Regions from separate parts of the Homo sapiens genome. Here regions 1 and 2 are each linked to region 3. The links are contacts of gene promoters, found by promoter capture Hi-C in blood cells and fetal thymus (Javierre and others, 2016). All regions are on one chromosome and are shown on one strand. The core of a region is centred on a gene start or on the middle of the fragment in contact, and the rest is flanking DNA. Distances in the headings are between cores, read along the strand shown. Region 1 holds the start of SNRNP40 (small nuclear ribonucleoprotein U5 subunit 40). Region 2 holds the start of PEF1 (penta-EF-hand domain containing 1). Region 3 holds the start of MECR (mitochondrial trans-2-enoyl-CoA reductase).

Region 1 (3,271 bases), core at 450-2,949, 2.1 Mb after region 3:
TGCTATAGAGCAAAAGAAGGGATGGGGATGGTGGCTCATGCCTGTAATCTCAGCATTTTGGGAGGCCAAGGTGTGCGGATTGCTTGAGCTCAGGAGTGAAATCCTGTCTCTACAAAAAAATACAATTAGTTAGATGTGGTGGTGTGTGTCTGTGGTCCCAGCTACTCAGGAGGCTGAGGCAGGAGGATCACTTGAGCCCAGGTGGTGGAGGCTGTACTGAGCCAGTGGTCAACACAGAGAGATTGTCTAAAAACAAAAAAACAAAAAAAGAGAGAGAGAGAAGCAATGTGGGTTCCACAGTATGTGGTACTGCAATTTAAAATAGGGTGGTCAGGAAAATCCTCACTGAAAAAATTACATTTGGGCAAATATTCGCAGGAGCTGAATAGTAAACCATGTAAACATTTGTGAAGAGCAATCCCACAGAGAGGACAGCAAATGCAAAGGTCCTGAAGCAGAGGCTTGGAAGAGAGAGTAACTGAAGCCAGGTGAGCAATAAGAAATTGGTCAGAGAGGTAAAGGGAAAGAGGGCAAATAATTACAAGAATTTTGGTTTTTACTCTGGATGAAGTACAAAGCCACCAGAAAGTTTTCTGCAGAGTGTAATGTGATCTGATGTTTAGAAGGATTCCTTTGGTTATTGGCTTGGTAACAGGTGCTGATACAAAGGTAGAAAGTGGAAGACCAGTTAGGGTCCCACTACAAAAATGCCAGATGAGATAATAATGGCTTAGGCCATGAGGCAATGATGGAGATGGTAGAAGTAGCAATTCTAGACCTATTTTGAGGACGGTGCCAGCAGGATTTATTGAGGAGATGTGAGGACACTCGTATTTCCTCGTCTGAGCCTAAACAGGACATTAGAAGTGTGATCACTATTTCTATCTTACAAAAAATGTAGTTAGGAGCATGGTTTCTCAGTTCGAAATCTGCTTCTATCACGTACTTGGTAAGTCTGTTTTTCCATCTGCAAAATGGGTTAATAACGTTCCTAACAGGCTGCTACCAAGATCAATGGAAATTTCATATACGAAACACTTTAGTACAAGAGTCAATGAATGTTAGCTGCTATTTAGTTGTTAATAATACTAGTGCAGAGAAATAAAGGGAAAAGCAACTTGCCCAAAGTCCCAAAACGAGCCAACACAAATCATTTCCCTTTTTTCTTCCCTCCCTCATTCATTCATTCTACACACTCTTCGGAATTTTTGTTCTATGCCAGATCCATGTTAGAGTCAGGATGCTTAAACCCGGGTCAGGGTTTTGAGCCCAAGGTCCTCAACTCTAATTCTAATGCTATCTCAGGGCAGTCGAGAGGCTGAAAACGGGCGCCAAACGGGGGAACACGTACGCAGCATTCGCAGGCTATGGGGAGCTTTTACAGTGTTTATGTGCTTTAACTCTGCGTAGAAACTCTCGTTCTGCCCCCGCAATGCGGGAAAGGGTCAGGGATCACCAGATACAGCGCTCTGAGGGGAGGAAGATGAGCTGAGGGCCAAAGGCCGCCTGCTTCTTCACTTACCGCTTGCAGCAAGGCTCCCGGCGTCGCCTGCTGCTGCCCGGCTCCTGGGCCAGACCCCGCTCCCAACAGCAACTCATGCCGCTGCCGCTTGACTGGAACCAGCGGCAACTCTGGGCCCTTACGCTTCTGCTGTTCTATCATGGCGGCAACCGGTCTCTTCAGCGCCGCCACTGACCGCGCTGCCGCTCTCAGGCGCCACGCAATTGGTTCCAAATTAGTCCTTCCTCCACAACTTCCAGCTTGGAAGAACCAATCGGCTTTCAATATTTCCATTTGCACCGCCCTCGGATAGTCTCTTGTTATTGGGCATATCTTTCTGACGTCATGAGAGTGCGATACCAGGATTGGTGGACGGAGCTGGCGACCGCCCTAGGCGCGCTGGGTCTTGTGGGTGGAAACGCGCTGGCTGACTGGGGTCGGCGTTTAGTTCAGCGCAGCGACTCGGGGACCTGGAGCTGACGCCTAGTACGTATGAGGAAGAACGGGGTGGGTGGCTGCCTGAGTCTGGAGGCGACGCCTCGGTTGTGCAGTCTGAACCTGCCCTTCTCAGCTGAGGGTGCTGACAGCAAGGGGTGGGAGGCGGGCCCCGAGTCCCCAGCTGTGGTAAGTAGTAGCCTGGGCTCCCTTTCGGGGCAGGAGCGGAGCCTTGGGGTCTCTGGCGGCAAGACCCAGCCCCTGCGGCTCCCTTCTTCAAGAGCGCCCATCGTGGCCAGTCCTGTGCCGGGCATTCCCAGGGAGAAAGGCCTGCGTCCCAGCCTCCTCCGGTGCCCCATTTGGCCGAGGAGGCTGACTTGTTTCTGCCACTGATTTTGCAGTTTTTGATCAGGGCCTACTGTATGCCCCCCTGAGAGAGACAGTGATGAAGGAAATGTCCGACTCCTTCTCCAGAGCACAGTCTTGTTGAGAAATTTGAGACTCATGCCCATGAACGTGGTCATTGCCTCAGTCGTCCTGCTGATATTCATTTAGCAGCGCGTTGGGGGTATGTTGTGAACCGGGCACGGTCCCTACTCTCAGGGCGTTTAACTCTGGTGGGGAAAACGTTAAACAATGACCTCACTAATACATGGAAATGCCTCCTACTGCTGCCTGATGCTATGAGTGCCTGAAATAAGCAGGAAGGTTTTTCAGAGGAAAAGATGCCTGCGCTGGTAGCTGCAGGAAGTGTTGTAATTAATTAGGTGAAGAAGTGAAGGCAGAACCTTCCATAGAGAACTACTTGTTCAGAGCCCTGAGGCACTTGGGAGGAAAATGACTAAAAGCACAAAGAGCCAGTGTGGCTGGTACAAAGAGAATGAAGGGAGTATGGTACAAGATGAAGCTGTACGTGATAGCGGTCAGACCTTGCAGGAATTTGTAGCTTTTATTTTAAAACGGATGAGATACCACTGAGCCGTCTTCCCCCAGTGGGGTGTGGTGGAGGAGGGGACTTGATCCCTCAGGCTCAGTGGTGTGAACAGACGGGGGTTGGGGAAGCCCTAGTCGATGTATGTGGACCACTTGGGATATGCAGTAATCCTGGTCAGAGATGTCAGTGAGGACTGAGATATGGGTGGAACTGCAGAGAATTGGACAGATTCTAGAGGTATATAGGAGGTAAAATGGGTGGGACTTGGTGATGGGTTGATTTTAGGGAGTGAAGAGAGGAATCAAAGGTAACTCCTAGGTTTCTGGCTTATGTAGTTGAATAGATGGTGGTACCATTCACTCACTATCACGGAATCCCTCAAGCTGGATAGGGAACACTAG
Region 2 (3,154 bases), core at 86-2,585, 2.4 Mb after region 3:
CACTTACTACGTGTGACTTTTGGGAAGCCACTTAACCTCTTTGGGTTTGCTCCTCAGCAGTTAATTAGGGGTAATAATACCTGCATGCCGATAGGGACTTCATGATTAGGATAATGGAGGTCCAAACACTGTGTAACCCGCACAAGACTGCACTCCCTGGAAGGACTGTTACATCTTTTGGCCTGTGACTAAACTCAGTTGAGCACTGTGTAATATACCAATTGATCTTGTTTTCCCACATTTCGTTTATGGATTTCATCTCCTAAATAACTGTGTGATCGCAGCCCTCTGTGGGCTTCATTTCCTCCTCTGTAAAATGAGGGCTCTATTTTGAGGACCCTCCGGGCACTGGCCTTTTAGAAGTCTACTAAAAATCAAAATGCTAAAGGGCAACACATGTTACACCTCACTATGTACCAAACGCTTCGTAAGCATCACCTCCTGACTCTCCACAACAGCTTTATGAGGCAGATCCTATTATTCGGCCCTATTTTACAGGCGGAAACTTGGACTCAGAAAGGCAAAACAGCTTGCTCAAGGGCTCACAACTATTTAGGTGGTAGAGCTAAGATATGAACCTACCTCTGACACCAAAGTGCACTTCAACACCCTACTATCACCCAACAAAGAATTCTGGCCACAGAATCACCTTGCTGCGGTATTCCTGACTGAATCAAGATACGCTGGGGAAGAGGCATCTGAAGATAGCCCGGGTTCTGACCTCGGCCCTGCTGCCTAACTGCCTGGTGACTTCAGGTAAGTTCTGTGTCTTCTCGGGGTTCACTTTTCTACACGCGAAATGGCGGTGTTGAACTAAGTCAGTGGTCAAACCAGCTCACTTGTGGCGCCTGCTACAACCAGAGTTTCCTGATGACTCTGATGCAGTGTGGGGTGGGTCCGGAAGCCTGGATTTTTATCCGACGCCCCAAATGAGATCGGCGGAACCAGAACTCTAAACCTCCGGTCATGGCTGATGCCCCCGCCCAAGGCCCCCATGAGGGCCTTGGGAGGCTGTGGAGCCCAGGCCAGCGCCAGCCTGGACCTGTGGGGTCCAAGGTCCCCAAATCCTCGAGTGAGCGACGTCAAGGGGGCGCGACACGACCTCGCGAATGTGCGGTCCTTCATGACGTGAGCAGGGCGCGACCGACGGTCCCTTTTCGGTTCTCTACAGCGCAAGGCCTCGCTGAAGCGAACCCATCGTGGGAAGGGCGCGGAGAAAGCGGGGAGAAAGAGCAGGGGGACGTCGGGCCTGCGCCTGGCACCGCCGCTACCTGGATTCGCGGGCCCCTCACACACTCACCTGCCGGTAAGGATAGCTGGCCATGGTGATTCTGACGTCACACTCAGGCAAGGGGTGGGGCTTTCCGCTCTCAAACCCGCCCCTCGTCTCGGCTTTGGGGCTGGGCCCGCATCTGATTGGACGTCCGCGCCTGTCAATCTTGGGTGCTGTCGGCCGACGGAAGTGACGATGGGGGCGGTGGGCGGATGCCTACCCGAGAGACCAGGGGAGCTAAGTGATTGATGGAGCTTCCGGAAGTCTTGGCGGCTGTACCAGCGCTAATGTTCCTCCTTTTCCTGAGGTGGAGTGGGCCGAAGAGGTGGTCAGGTTGGGAAATTTAGTGAGAAGCCTGGGTGGGGTGTTGCTGCGGTAGCCATGTTATAACCTGGCAAATGGGACGCATGATAGTGACGTAATTGCTGGAGTAGCTCCTGAGTTTCCGCAGATGAGCCGCGGGAAAGGAGACGAGGGGCGGTGGCCAGGCGGTTGCCCTGACAACGGGGAACCGACCGACTCTTCCCGGTAGGGAGAGGCGATGGCGGAATTACTCCTCTAATGTCAAGGTACTGGGTACCAGTTAGTACCCTTGTAGTGGGATACAGATCTGTGGTCTTTGGAGAAAAAAACCCCAGATCATTAGAGTTGGAGGAAAATTGAATTATCTAGTGCCTCTTTCTTCATAAATGGGGAAACTGAGGTGCAGAGAGGCAGTTGCCTTGCCCTAGCTCACAGTGGGTCGCCTAGAACCGGGGTCAATGGATGTCCAGTTCTCAGCAGGGAGGTCTAGGTCGGTCCCCATCGTAGGTCAAATCCTGGTGACCGAGTGATCTCAGCACCATGTACTTGCCACTCAGTGGTTCCGTTTCTACACTTATTTGTGTGCTTATTTGATTTCTTTGTCAAGTTCTTTCATGTGGGCTAGGGTTTTGTCTGTTTTTGCTTGTCATTATAACTCCAGTACCTAGTATAGCGACTGACACGATTATTAAAATAAATGAATAAATGAATGTTACGAACTGTTATCCAGTCTAGTCCATCTATCTAACCAAGTGCACTTTCCAAAATCACAGTGCTGATCATGCCACTTGCCCACTACACAGCCTACAATGGATGCTCTTCATCCACGCCTACAAAATAAGGCCCAATCTCTTCATTCTGGTACTCCAGGCCCTTCAGAATCTGGCCCAGCCTCAACTTTCCAATCTTACGGCCCCTTCTGCTACTCTGTATTTCTGTGCTCAGTTCCACCATTCAGCACTTCTGCTTTGGAGGGAGGATCTTTGTTTTATCACTTTCTAACTGTATCACCTTAGGCAGGTTTTTTGTTTGTTTGTTTTTAATTTCCAACTTTTAAGATCAGGGGTATATGAGCAGGATGTGGTTTGTTACATAGGTAAATGTGTGCCATGGTGGTTTGTCGCACACATCATCCCATCACCCAAGTGTTAAGCCCAGCATCCATTAGCTATTCTTCCTGATGCTCTCCCTCTTCCCACCTCCCTCTACGCTCCGACAGACCCCAGTGGTGTATGTGCTCTCCTCATTCAGCTCCCACTTATAAGTGGTAACATGCGGTGTTTGGTTTTCTGTTTCTCTGTTAGTTTGCTGAGGATAATGGCTTCCAATTCCATCCACGTCCCTGCAAAGGACATGATCTTGTTCCTTTTTTATGGCTGCATAGTATTCCACAGTGTATATCTACCACATTTTATTTAGGCAAGTTATTTAACCTCTCTAAATTTCACTTTTCTTAGCTGACAGGAACAAATGTGTAAATTTGAAAATGAGCTTATTATACCTGCTCATGCCCCAAACTTAGGTTCAAACCACTCCTTTCACCTGGACCAGCAGCCCTCCCAACTCCAGTCCTGCAAG
Region 3 (3,517 bases), core at 687-3,186:
TTGACCCCAAGTATTTTGATTCCCAGACCTGTGCTTTTGCTTTAGCTCCACTTCAGTGGCCCCAATAGCCCTTCTGAATGGCTATTTATGTGCAGATTTACAATGGTTGGCAACTGACATACTATTTTTATCAACCACGTGCAAAAAGCATGAATTAAGATCCAACAGAATTTTAGGAGGAGGACAAAGTCATAAAAGTAACGAGAAGTTGAATGACTTCTCTAAGACCAAACAGCTACTAAGACGTTGAGCCTGTATTTGACCAAATATAGATACTTGGGTCTGTATGGCACCAAAGCAGCTCTTTTTAACCAAGCCAAGATGCATATACGGTGCAGTGGAGAGAAACATGAGTTTGGAATCAGAAGCCATGGATTCCAGTCTCCTGTTCCAATCACTTATTAGCGGTATCACTCTGGGCAAGTCCCTTGCCCTCTGGAAACAATGATCTATGACCTACTCTTTACTGACACATGAAGATCCAAATGGATGTAAAAGTATTCTGAAAACTTCTTCCAAATAATAATAATAATAGTAAGAACTCACGCAGGTCAGTCAGACATAGGTTGGAATTCTGACCCTGTCACTTACTGGCTGTGTGACCTTGGACGAGTGATTTTACCTCTTCTGCCTCAGTTTTCATCTGCAAAATGGGGATAAATCAATAACTACCCCAAAACATTGTTGTGACAATTAAATGAGAGCATCCATTTAAACAAGGGATTGCCTGACACAATATTCGATCAATAAACATCAGCCATTAATACCCTGATAATTGCCTCTCGGGTCTTCAGCTACCTTCAAGTACGGTCTTTCTGACCTACCAAAAACGCCCTGGGCTTCGGCTTCGGTTTGCTATTCTCTGCCCCCTTCCTCGGACCCTGTCCCTCTCTTCCCAGTCCGCAGCTCGTGTTAAAGCCTTCCAGAAACCCCAGTCCCCTTCCCCGGCTTCGGCGCCGTCTCTTACTCGACGACCTTGGCTGGATCCCCGTGGTGCCCATAGACAAGCGCCCGGACCCGGGCAGGCTCGGCGGATGCGGAGTAGGAGGAGGCGGCAGGTCCGTGACAGCCAGAAGCTGGGAGCAGCCCCCGCCACTGCCGGGCGGGGGTTCGCACCCGCCACAGGGTACTGCAGACCCACATGCTCGCTCCAACCAACACAGAGCCTGACGCCCCGGCTACGTCATCTTCCAGCGACCGCGCGCCTGCGCCCCGCCCCTGCCCCGCCGGGTGACCACTCCCCCTTGGTCCCTTTGAAGGGCGTTTCCTTCCTTCGCTGCCCAAGTGGTGGCGCCTGGCTAGACTGCGTGTGGGCCCCGGAGGGATCCGGGGGTGCGGAGCTTGCGAGGCCGCCAAAGCTGTTGTCTCAACAAGGAGAGTCTGGGGCTAGTCCAAAGTCGTGTCTACAGCCTGCAGTTTGGTGTTTGATTTGGAGGAAATATTTACTCTCCCTGGCCTCAGTTTACCCTTCACATAATATATTGAGTGCTCACCGAGCCAGGCTCTTTAAGGTATTATCTCATTTAATCACCACTACCATGTAACGGCATAGGGAGGCAAAGCTTACTTCCCTACACTGAGGAGAGTACACGAAAGCTGCTGTGGAGGCAGGAGTATGGGGCTTGGAGTTAGAAAACTTAGGTTCAAATCCTAGCCCTGCCACTTCCTAGCTTGGCCACCTTGGGCAGGTGAAACTCTGAATTTTTCTCATCGGTACAATGGGGATAATATGCCTCCTTCCGGATTGTTGTGAGGATTGGATGAAATAATAGAGGAATGCTATTGTGGGTGGGAGAACGCATTGTAAAAAACTCTGTTCAGATGTAAGACAGGAATCACAAGGAGAAGGGTCCTCTCTCAAAATGCTCACAGTGTAGAAAGGGATTAAGTGGAACACTGGAAATGCCTGTAAAAAGGTGTAGCCCTATGAAGGATCTAGTCTGATTTTTGGTGTAGGGAAGACATGAACATTACTAAAACCCCAGATCGAGCTGTGGCTCGTGCCAGAGTGCAATGCTGTAGTCTGAAGAGAAGTGCTCTGGGATGGGGTGGGATGGGGTGGGGGCTCTTGGAGGAGGTGCTGTTAGAGCCAGCCCTGTGATTCAAAATCTTCTGTGTGCATAAAAATAATCCGAGGTCCCATCTTAGACCTACTGAATTAGAATCTTGCGGATGGGGGTTCCAGGAATCTACATCCTTACAAGCTCCCAAGAATATTCTGATGCAGGTGTCCCAGGAAACAGGTTTTAAGATACTGAGCCAGGGCTTTGAAGGATAAGGAAGAGTTCCTTTCCTGGATTTTATTGACTTGAAGCTTGCCATCTCCAAGCCTTTCCTCTGAGGAAGAGAGCACAGCAAAGTACTGTGAGCTAGATTTGGACAAACCTGGCTTTATGTCCTAGCTCTGCCATTTTCCAGCCATTTGATTTCGGACAAGTCACCAGGCCTCTCTGTGTCTTCACTTTCTTACTCTTAAAATGGAAGGAATACTAGTTATCTGTTTCAAGATTGTTGTGAGGGTCAAGTGAGATATTATCCACTTGAAGCATTTAGTACAATGCTTGGCACATGGAAGCATTTGATAAATATTATCGGGGGTTATTGTGATTAAATGAGAAATATCACACATAAAACCCTCAGACTAGGGTCTGGCTTATAGTATGTGCTCACTAAATGTCTGTACTTGTTTTTATTATTAGAGAAAGTTGGTGTCCCATGGTGGGGGAAAGGCTTGGCCCCACATTTATGTGCCAGCACACACACGATGACCAGTCCTGCTTACCCTTTTCCCCAGTGACACATAGGCTTACTTGAACTGGGAAGTACAACGTAACCTTCTGTTGTAAGACTCCCTAGGTGACATTGAGATGTCGACATTCTCTTCTTCACCAAATTGGCTCCTCTGAATTTCTGGGGAGCCCAGTCAGGAAGCCTGAAGAATCATCCAGCAAGTCCTCCTCCTTGGGGCTGGACTTTAGCCTCCTGTGCATCCCAATAGCCCTCACTTTTAGTCTAGGCCATCTGGGTTCTTGCAGGGGCATAGTTTGAGAACTACTGACTGAGGGGTTCAAGTCCAATTTCCTGGACTTGCATTCAAGATTCTTTGCACTCTGACTCCCACACTGCATTTCCAGCTTCATCTTCTCCTGTTGGACCGTGCATAGCCTGTGATCCAGCTGCATCTGATACCCGTCTTCCCCAGTGTGTCTTGTGCCTTTATTCAGGCCACTCCTTCTGCCTGAAATGCTGTTCCCTGCCTCGGAAACTCCAGGTTCAGATGTCATTTCTTTGATGTTTCAAAACTCCCTAGGTCATCTGCTGCTGCCTTTGTGTTTTCCCTGGAGCTGTGTTATGGCCTTTAGTACATCGTCTCTTATTTATTCCCCTCCAGGCAAGACTGGAGCCATGTTTGGTTTATCTCCATAACACCAGCACCCGATATGAGCCTGGCACAGGGTAGGTGTCATAAATATTCCATGAGTTGCAGGTAATTGAATTTCCTCATGGCCTAGAACGG

What was found. The method cuts DNA at HindIII sites, captures the fragments that hold promoters and counts their contacts. A CHiCAGO score of 5 or more calls a contact.
Region 1: the fragment with the promoter of SNRNP40 here is called in contact with a fragment that was not itself captured in region 3 in 2 of 17 cell types (activated CD4 T cells and total B cells); the score reaches 5.4 in activated CD4 T cells.
Region 2: a contact is called between the fragment with the promoter of PEF1 here and a fragment that was not itself captured in region 3, in 1 of 17 cell types (non-activated CD4 T cells). The highest score is 5.4, in non-activated CD4 T cells.

Annotation. Positions count from the first base shown.
Region 1 is chr1:31,295,089-31,298,359 of GRCh38, forward strand. It overlaps SNRNP40 (small nuclear ribonucleoprotein U5 subunit 40), which reads right to left and starts at 1,700. Exons shown (of 10, transcript NM_004814.3): 1 at 1,523-1,700. The coding sequence starts at 1,663. ZCCHC17 (zinc finger CCHC-type containing 17) reads left to right here and starts at 1,944. Exons shown (of 8, transcript NM_016505.4): 1 at 1,944-1,987. RefSeq lists an enhancer at 1,469-1,678. The HindIII fragment of the contact is 7,877 bases long and covers 1-3,271 here.
Region 2 is chr1:31,643,541-31,646,694 of GRCh38, forward strand. It overlaps PEF1 (penta-EF-hand domain containing 1), which reads right to left and starts at 1,336. Exons shown (of 5, transcript NM_012392.4): 1 at 1,301-1,336. The coding sequence starts at 1,324. It overlaps PEF1-AS1 (PEF1 and COL16A1 antisense RNA 1), which reads left to right and starts at 596. Exons shown (of 6, transcript NR_184313.1): 1 at 596-756; 2 at 1,172-1,306. RefSeq lists enhancers at 1,066-1,836, 1,156-1,225, 1,466-1,805. The HindIII fragment of the contact is 8,144 bases long and covers 1-3,154 here.
Region 3 is chr1:29,229,764-29,233,280 of GRCh38, forward strand. It overlaps MECR (mitochondrial trans-2-enoyl-CoA reductase), which reads right to left and starts at 1,171. Exons shown (of 10, transcript NM_016011.5): 1 at 968-1,171. The coding sequence starts at 1,143. RefSeq lists enhancers at 547-1,047, 1,048-1,548, 1,073-1,182. The HindIII fragment of the contact is 752 bases long and covers 1,561-2,312 here.